3 separate regions of the Homo sapiens genome follow, and all the other regions are linked to region 1. Evidence: promoter capture Hi-C in human tissues and cell types (Jung and others, 2019). All regions are on one chromosome and are shown on one strand. The core of a region is centred on a gene start or on the middle of the fragment in contact, and the rest is flanking DNA. Distances in the headings are between cores, read along the strand shown.

Region 1 (3,164 bases), core at 423-2,922:
CCATATACAATTATCGACTACCTCATCGTGTGTGAAACACCTCAAGGTATTAATACTAAACAATTTAAGTGATCAGGTTGTAAAAGCTAAGGTCTTCCATTAACAAAATTTTTAAAAGGTGACTCAAGAGACTAAGTTCTCATCAATATTGTGTTATTATAGACTCAAAACAGTGTTACAAGATGCAAAATTTTATCTTGAGATGCAAACATCATGTGGCTTGGGGTACTTATTCTGTGAAACTAAGGCTTCTTTTTAAGTACTAAGCATACGGCACCATCTCTTAAGTCTAGGAAGATTGATTCCTCAAAGTATTATAGCATCTCCATGATGTCCCAAATATAGTGAAAATGGAAATGCATACAAAATGAAAGGAGACTTGAAAAATTAGAAATTTTTCTACAAAGCATTATTCAATCATATGTAAGGGGATATATTTTAGGGTACACTATACATAGAAATCTGTGATTTCCATATAATACAATAAAAATGATTCTATTTCCTTGCTGTTTTCAATTTACTTCCCTACCTACATTCTTCAGCTTGATTTTCACAATAATCCCATGCAATGCACAAGGGAGTTGATGTTGTCCCATTTTCACACATTAGAAATTGAGGTTTAGGGACAGTTACGCAAGGCCTCAGCAAATAATAACAGCCAGGAATCCAGGCCTTCTCTCAATCAGCACTTCCCACCATGAATTCAGAATAAAAACCAACCCCCACATTTCATGAAGTTGACTGTGGGTCCTGCAAATGTCATAGCAAAATAGCAGAGGAGTAATAGGTAGCTTTTGTTAGCAACACAAACCGTGTAGCCTCTGGTTAGAAGAGTGGGCAAAGAATCATAAAGGTTTCTTCAGTCACATAATGTGAACATCCATGGAATTTCTGAGCACCTGCAAGGAAATTCCAAAACGGAGCGAAAGGGAAAAAGTGTTCCGTAGAGTTCCTAATAAAACTTAAAGAGCTCCGCTAACTCTTCAACTGCAATCAGTTAACCCAAGTGAAGTCATGTATACTGCGCCCAGAGCCCCCTAAAAGAAGCAACACATTGATGCACCTTCTTAAGACCAACAACTTTCGCGTTTGACATTTTTCTCCTCTAAAAACCCGTACTCTCCTGGGGCAGGGGGTCGAGTATTTCTAAGGATGACCGTTTTGAACAGCCTGCTTTCACAGGCATCCATAATTCAAGTGAGAGTGAACCATCCTGCCCTGGCAAGGTACCTGGCAGGGGCGGCTGTGTAGGGCACTTGCAAAGGCTGCGGAGGAGAGCGCGCGGGCGAAGAAGCACTCCCGGACCATGCCTCTCTCCGGTGCCCGGTGCTGACTGCGCTGAGAGCGCAGGAGCTCGGCGCCGCCCTCCCCGTACTCCCAGCCCTCCCGGGCGCCGGGGCCTGGCCGCGGACCTACCAGCGAGAGTACTTTATAGGTGTTGGGGTCCTTGGCAGTGCGGGCGCGCGCCGCCTTCTCCAGCGGCTCCTCCCCCACGTCCATAGGGGCCAGCAAGGACGCGGCCGCCTGCGGGTCCCCGGGCGCCTCGGCAGCGTGGCTGCGGCCCCGATCGCGGCCGTTCCCCGCCGGGCCCTCCCGGGGAGCGCGCCCGCCCTCGCCGCCGCGGCTCCCGCCCCCCGCGCAGCCGTCGCGCTCCATCGTGGCCCCGGCCGCTCCGGCCCCGCTGCCCGGCCGCGCCTTTAATAGGCCCCGCGCCGCCCGCCCCGCCCCGCCCCTCCCCGCCGCGCCCGCCCCTCGCGGTCAGATCCTTGGCTCCCCGCCCTACACCCGGCTCTCGCAGTCAGGGCAAAGCGACTCAACGCCCCGGATTATTTGGCTTCCTGTCTGATTTCGGGCACTCTGTGTGTCGGTTATTTTGGGTCCCTTACGTGGGCGTGTCTTAAACTTCCCCCCAAGCCGTCCCCTCCCCGCGCCCCGGCCACCCTCCCGACACTTGCAGGAATCGCCCTGCGTGGCCTCGCGGCGCGGGCTGGGCTGGAATTGCAGCGTGTGGTCTGCAGAGGGCATGAGATCATGGGGCCCCAAAATAGAGCGGGGAGGAGGAGAAGGATGCAGCCGCCGATGCCGGTCCGGCTTCTCAAAGGCGGGAGAGAGTGGAGTCTTGGGGTCGACCTGTGAGTTTCTGGATGGAAATGCAAATGAACCATGGAGGAAGGCGACTTTCTGTTTCTCCCCCTCTGCGCCCCGTCCCCCACTACCTACGGTACTCTGAGAGAGAAATCGTCCACTTAAAATACGTGGGTTCACATGTACTGAACACACGTAAGGGATATTTCGATTCCCACGGTTTTATGTGGTTTCTGGAGTCTTCTCGCTATTGTTTGTATGTATATTTGCTTATTTTTCTAGACTTTCTGTATTGAAGGTTTCAGGAGTTGGCGTTGCCCTCTCCTGAGGTTGACACTGATACCTAGCTATATCAAAAGTGTTAATGCAATCTGAAATACTTTGATAAGCCTTATTTTTCAACTAGGACGCTAACAGTGAGCTGATTCTTGGTGGGTTTTGTTTTACCTTTGATTCTGGAACTTGTACATTTTCTGGCTCATCACTTAGCAAAATCACCAGTGTGTAGTGAAGTGAGACAGAGGGAAACCAGTGACTTCGAACTACTTTGCAATACCCAGGACTGACTTCAGGTACCAAGGAAAACAATTAATTTTCAATACATTTTGAATACATGAATATATACAAGTGTTTACAAATGAGAATGAATGTTTAACAAATATAAAATGCATGTTATCCCTTTAAAATAGTCAACTTGGGATGCTCTTCATTTATACTGACTCATCCATCCACCCATCCATTTATTCATCAAGTAATGAATCCTTCAACTCAATCTTTTGGCCTCCAACTATGCATACCATATAAAAAATGAATTAAAATGTATCTTTCCTTAAGTGTGGTGGAAGCGGGGGTGGGGGGGTAGGACCAACTCGTAAACAAAATAATTAAAACCTAAGTCATATATGCAGAATAGAGTCACACATAGGATATTGATACAGGAGATAGAAATTATTTAGGCAGATAGTATGAGCAAAAGAGCCCTCGGCAGAACTTACCTTCTAACAAAAAGCAGCCCAAGAAATCACTTCCTTTCTAACAAAGAGCAACCTGGAAGATTGGGCTGCAAACATAGGTAAGGA
Region 2 (3,484 bases), core at 808-3,307, 360 kb before region 1:
TTAACAATTTCTATCTTTACGAACAGTGACTATTTTCTCTGTGTTTGTAAAGTGTGAATAAAAGCATGTTTCATTACCTTTGCCATTTATTGACCAGCTATATACAACATAACAAATGACAGTTGCTTGCTTAGCAAAGGCAACTTGAAGGCAAACCCCTTAGTCTCCTCCCTCAATGTCCCAACTCTCCAGTCCCACAAGACTGTCCCTATACAAATTCTGGGACTTATACTGATTTCAAGATTTATTGTTACATGAAAAAGCAAGGATCTGAAAAATGTAAAATTTATCATTTTCCTGTAAAAATGGCATATATACAGATGTTTGCATGTACTCCTCTGAAAGTAAACACAAGACACTGGTAATAGGGCTGCCTCTACAGAAGAGGATAGGGGAACCCTGGATGTCTTTGGTGAAAGTAAGACTAATTTTCATTGCTATAGATTAAGGCTCACACTTAGATTAAGAACTATTATCTCTGGGTGGTAAAAATCCAAAGGACTATTCATTTATTTATTGCCTGTTACTCATTTTGTATTATTTCTACAATGAACTGAAATTCACTTCAAACAGAAAAAGTTAAAAATATTTTGAAAGGAGTTGTCCAGCAAGAATATAGCAGAAGAAAGGAAATATCTGTATTTTGGCAGCTAGAAAAGGAACATAAATTGTTGTAATCCCTGGTGATTAAAAAAATACAATCCTTAATGTAAACCTAGGTGCTGACATTAAAATAGGAAAGAGATAAAAATGACATAAAACTAGAAAGGCAAGTGACTGGCAGAAAAAATAAATCCAGATGCAAAATTACTTACCAGAAAAATTCTCAGATTATATAATCAAACAAAAATTCAAATAATATCTTGCTTTTATTATTTATTTTTATGTCTTCCTATATGCAAGGATATATTCAATCAAACAAACAGTATTATAACAAGAAATTCTCAGTTCCATTCATTAGATTTCAATAGCTGAGTTTCTCCCAGAATCCTATCTGGAATAACCTCAGTCATTACCATACCATACAGACAGATAGATTTCCCTGGGGCTTTTGGTGGGGATTCTTTTATTCTGACAGCACTTTGAAGGATTTGAGATGGAGAACGCTGTGCCGTTGCCTTTGCACATCTTCCAGACAGTGGAGAATGCGTTTAGGGGCAGCAGATTGGAGTTCATCTTTTGGGGGCCTGTGAAAATATTTTTGGCCTTTGTAGATTGGTTGAACTAAAAGGGAAAAAAAAATACCTTAAATCATTGGATTGGTATACACTACCAATACTCTACTCATGTTAGAAGTAACACACACACAAATTAGTTTATGTAACTCCAAGAATGTAAGGTAGATGTTTCATCTTTTAGGAAAACAGCACCTCCTAAAACAATTATTTTATTTCATTCTTGGGGTTGTTGCTAATGGCAACAGAAAGAATGCACTGGAGTGTCATAATAATCCTCCATTAAATCCCTACTGTTTAAATTTTAATGCTATAATTCAAGAGCTGACAAAAGCCCATTGAGTTTGTCTATGGGGAGGAAAACAGGCAGGCCCATTTTCTCAGGGGTGATGCTATAGCAACATGGAATGAATTTGGGGTCAGGGAACAAGCAGTCTCCAAGCTTTGTTTGCATTTCCTGACTAAAAGTAGAATCTAACATTATAAATTTTACCCAAATAAGTATTTATTTTGAATAGCAGGAAGATAGCTCACTTTGTACTGCTGTTTACATTGAAAACAGAGAGAAGGTAACAAAACCAGAACTGGAAGAAAGACATGCCGACAAACATGTTATGAAATGACTATTGAAGTGACCACTTTAGAAACCCCTAGAGCCTCTCTGCGTTTGCTTGACACCCAACCCCTCTCCCGTGGACAAGCAATGCTTTAGAACATGGAAAAGTATTAAATTTGCAAAATGCCTTTTTAAAAGAGAGAGACAAAGGAAGTCTGATCAACAATTCCTGAATGTGACCCCTTACAGTCATGCAAGACATGGCAAAGACGGGTGTTGTTGATTTTGTCTAGCTCTTTATAATGGCACTTTTGTTTTAGTGGGAGAATTTATTTCTACCAGAATAAACAAATACACCTGAATCACAATTGCCTATTGTGCAGCAGAAGGCCAAGAAAAACCCTACCCAATTCCCACTAGTTTCTGCTGCCAACTTTTCTTTCCTCAGGCATCTGTGTTTTCACTTTTGGTTTGAGTGTTGAATATTAGCATATTGAGTCAGTGTTCAATAGCATAAAATATTACATTTTGGGTGGTTATCCAATAAGATCTATCTAGTTATAGACTCTATTTATATGGCTTGCAATATACAAAAAAGAAGACTGTTAGGTTTTCAAATGCTAAGTCATAGGTGAAAATATAAATATCTGTAAACCTTGTAGCTCAACAAAACTCAAAGCTGTTTCTTCTTTTTTATTTCCTCTCTCAGACCCTTGCTGTCTCACCTTGACAATGAAAAACTCTCACCCCTCCCAAACCTCTGATGACCTCTAGTACCCATCCTTTATAATTCATCCTAAATATAATGGCAATATTAATTATCCTCTTAATAACAAAATCCCTCTTCTATTAAAAATCTTTGATGTTTTAAAATAAAATTCACACTTCTACATATTTACTCTGCTATTACAAGTAAGTCAAACTGTATAACTTGTTGTTCCATTTATATATCTTGCTTACACTTTTCTCACGGTATATTTACTTAGATGCTGTGTAGAATTTCCTCATCAATATTCTATTCATCTTTCAAACCCAGTTTATATGTCACCTTTTCCATAAAGTTTTTCTAGATCACTCCTTCTGGAAAAGATTTCTTTCCTTTTCTCACTCTAAGCTCACATGGTCCCTGTAGAATTATCTTTGGGTCATTATTTCATATTTTCTAATGAACTCTGTTACTATTATCCCACAAGGACAGAGACTATATATTTAGTTATTTTTCTTTCACTCATTTTACTCTTAGAAAGAAAAGTTTTTTAATAAAAGTATTCTCTAAGCTGTATTGCTTACCTGGTTTTGCCTCCTAGAAACACAAAGCAGATTACATTCAAGTTATAATTATTATCAACAAAAGGATTTGTAGAATAAAACTTAAAGCTATAGAATAAAAAATATTAAGTGATATGTTATGATCAAGTACTAGTGCCTTAAATAAAAGAATGGTTTAGCATAAAAAGAAAAATAAAGGATGGGTTATTCTGCATAGACAACCCTAATATCTGAGTAGTTTATCATAACAATTAAGTATGTGCTCATGTTACTCATTCAATGAACACTGGCAATAAGACTTTGCTCATCACAGTCACTAAGGGATCCAGACTGACAGAAGAGACATCTCTATACATATTTACATAGTCACTGTGTCAGAAAAAGGGAAATTGGTGACACATACCATGCTACCTCTGAAAATTTCTTCCCAGAAGTAGCACATTTTTTCTGTTCATACTTTATACATCAGAGCAAGTCACATGGC
Region 3 (3,127 bases), core at 514-3,013, 510 kb before region 1:
TTCAGAGAAAGATGGGCTTTATTGTCATACTGGATCCATTACCACATTATAGAAATTTTTATGCACTGTTTGTTCTATTTGATTACTTTTAACTGGGGAGACCAAGTAACCTTTTTGATTACTATGTCCAGAGTCCCCAAGACCACCCTCAGGTTCTGTGATTTGCAAGGAGTACCTACAGTACTCAGCAAATAGTTGTATTCATGGAAAACATGAATATGGTGAAAGCATGCAAAGCAGAAAGAACAAAAGGAAAAGCTACATGAAGCAAAGTCTAGAGGAAACCAGGCGCAAGCTTCCAAGAGCCCTCTTCCAGTGGAGTCACACAGAATGCACCAAATTACACCATCATCAAATTGTGACAACATGTATGGAATGTTGTCTATTGGAGAAGCTCATCACAGATTCAGTGCCCAGAGTTTTTTGGAGGAACTAGTCATATAGGTGGTCTCTGCCTACCACTTACTAAAATTCCATACTTCCAGATGGAAAGCAGTTGTTCAGCATAAACTGCATTGTTTGCACAGTATAGGCACAATGAGTCACTCTTATCATTAGAGAAAGTTTATGTCAATATAGGAAATCGTTTACTATTTAAGTTTCCAGGCACCTGCCAAGGATTATCCTTGCAAGCAGGCCTTTCTGAGGTGGGCCTATTATGTTAACTCTTTAGGTATAATTGTTCTCTTTCGGTACAATTATAGGAGCTATTTAAGATATAATAAACAAGATTCATATTTTCCTTGCCCTCTTGAGATTGTATTCTGGAGTGAGGGAGAGGTAATAAACAAAAAAAGATATTTTAAATAGTAATAGATGTTATGAAGACAAAACAGTGAAGGAAGTATGTAGTTGTTGTCAACAGGATAAAGAAAGCCTCTCTGGGTTGGTGATATCTGAGCAGCGACCTCCGTGATAAGGAGCCAGCTATAGAGATATGCAAATTCTGCACAGGAAAGAGCCAGTGTAATGAATGACCCTGTGGTTAGTCTGAACCTACCGTGTTTGTGGAGCAGCAAGAGAGTGCATTTGGCTGCAGAAGAGTGAAGTATGGTAGAGAATAAGTGAGGACACATGAGAGCAGGTGGGACCAGATGATTTAGGACTTTATGGGCAACATAAGGCCTTGGGGCTTTAAGTGCAAAGGGAAGCAATTAAAGGATATAAATAAAGTCAATTTGGCTACTATACTGGGAAAGGACTCTAGGAGGGCTAGACTGGAAGGAATATCAATCAGGAAACTATTGTGATTGTCTAGTTGAGGGATGAAGGTCACTTGTGCCAAGGTGGTGACACCAAGTTGATGAGACACATTCCATTCAGGTTACTTTTTGAAAGGAGCACCCACAGGCTTGTTGATCAATGGCATCTCATGGAGGCAGTGAGGGATAGAGCAGAGTAAAGGCTCAGTGATGGTGTGAATGGTGTTAGGGGAACATGCTGAGGATGATATTGAGAATTCTGTTTTGGATATATTAAGGTTGATGTATCTATTCTTACTGATGTCAGTGAGAAGAATTAGAATGGCTGGTGGAAATTTGGGGATGGCTGAATTTGTTTTAATATAGAGAAGAATTTTCTAATGATCACTACTATTCAAAATGAAAGGGACTGACGTAATTATGTAATTAGAGAAAATATACACATAGAGGTTTTGTTTTTGTTTTTGTTTTTGTTTTTTTGAGACAGAGTTTCGCTCTTGTCACCCAGGCTGGAGTGCAGTGACGCGATCTCAGCTCACTGCAACCTCTGCCTCCTGGGTTCAAGTGATTCTCCTGCCTCAGCCTCCCAAGTAGCTGGGATTACAGGCGCTCGCCACCACGCCCAGCTAATATTTTGTATTTTTAGTAGAGACGGGGTTTCTCCATGTTGGGCAGGCTGGTCTCGAACTCCTGACCTCAGGTGATCCACCCGCCTCGGCCTCCCAAAGTGCTGGGATTACAGGCATGAACCACCATGCCTAGCCACACATAGAGTTTTGAGACATGTATTTAAGGAGAGAGTGAAAAAACATTCAGTGAGGATATGGTAAAATGCAGATGATGAAGGAGAATAGAAATATGGTCAAGTTTTTGTGCCTAAATATTACAGGATTATAAATTATGAACTGAGACCCACTCCTCTTTTTGAATTAAATTTATGATTCATAGATAGGTTTTACTGAATTTTTTTGCAAACAGCAAAATGACCACTAGAAGAAATGCCTATATCTAATAAAATACAAATAACAAAATGCTTACATAAATTGGTTTATAGTTTACTAAGTATTTTCATATGCATGATTTTATAATTCATTTTTACACAATTCCAACAGGTAGAGCAAGACATGCAATCCCGGTTTTATAGGGGAGGAAATAGAAACCAAGAGATTAAGAAATTATTCAACATTATATAGTACATAATAAAAGGGAGAGTTGGGGTTTGCATCTAGTCTCTGATCTCTTTCTCCCCATACAACATGCACATATAGGCCAATATATAAATATACATAAATATATAACAAGTAAATAATTACATATGTAAACAAATTAAAACAACAAAAATCCAAGCATCACATAAAATATCATTTTAAAAACACTAGGATGTAGTCTTGGTTTTCAAATATTGATGTTATATTGTTCCTTACTTAGCCTTGAGTAGTCTTTTTCTCATTTAGAATATTTTTTACATATTGAATGGAAATTTTCTAATCGATGGTTAATTTGAGAGAATGTTAAAAACAAATGGATATTAAAAGCTGTATGTTTGCAAGATGATTTAAATGCATTCTATGGCCTATTTTTTTTTTTTAAGTTTAAATGGTATGAAGCCTCTAAAAATGTTCGGCTCTCCTGTTTCCCAATGAGCTCCACCAGTGTCCATACCTTTGGTCTCCCTCAGGAAATACTCAAGTTGGGTTTTCATAATTTGGAAAGACAGGGAGAATTGCTTTACAGAACAAGGCTAGTTTTGAGATGTCATTCTCCCCTGCCAAAAAAAAGAAAAAAGAAAAAAAAAAAGGACAAAACCCATTTAACTTCATGGTTAAATTTATTCCTCAAAAATATGAGCACAAAAGAGCCTCTATTTAAAAATACATGTTTAGACTTTAAATTAGACATTAAATCTAGTTCATCACCACAGTGAC

Evidence for each region. Contacts are between HindIII fragments. The study calls those that stand out against the background at their distance.
Region 2: a fragment that was not itself captured here is called in contact with the fragment with the promoter of ENPP1 in region 1 in 4 of the 25 tissues and cell types used here (aorta, bladder, hippocampus and 1 more).
Region 3: a contact is called between a fragment that was not itself captured here and the fragment with the promoter of ENPP1 in region 1, in 1 of the 25 tissues and cell types used here (IMR-90 fibroblasts).

The regions. Positions count from the first base shown.
Region 1 is chr6:131,806,528-131,809,691 of GRCh38, reverse strand. It overlaps ENPP1 (ectonucleotide pyrophosphatase/phosphodiesterase 1), which reads right to left and starts at 1,672. Exons shown (of 25, transcript NM_006208.3): 1 at 1,417-1,672. The coding sequence starts at 1,656. The HindIII fragment of the contact is 10,154 bases long and covers 1-3,164 here.
Region 2 is chr6:132,166,741-132,170,224 of GRCh38, reverse strand. LINC01013 (long intergenic non-protein coding RNA 1013) reads right to left here. Exons shown (of 6, transcript NR_187602.1): 6 at 851-1,187. Among named protein-coding and RNA genes, the nearest start is that of LINC01013, 36 kb to the right of the region's middle. The HindIII fragment of the contact is 7,965 bases long and covers 1-3,484 here.
Region 3 is chr6:132,312,471-132,315,597 of GRCh38, reverse strand. All of the region lies in intron 10 of MOXD1 (monooxygenase DBH like 1), which reads left to right. Among named protein-coding and RNA genes, the nearest start is that of MOXD1, 87 kb to the left of the region's middle. The HindIII fragment of the contact is 5,602 bases long and covers 1-3,127 here.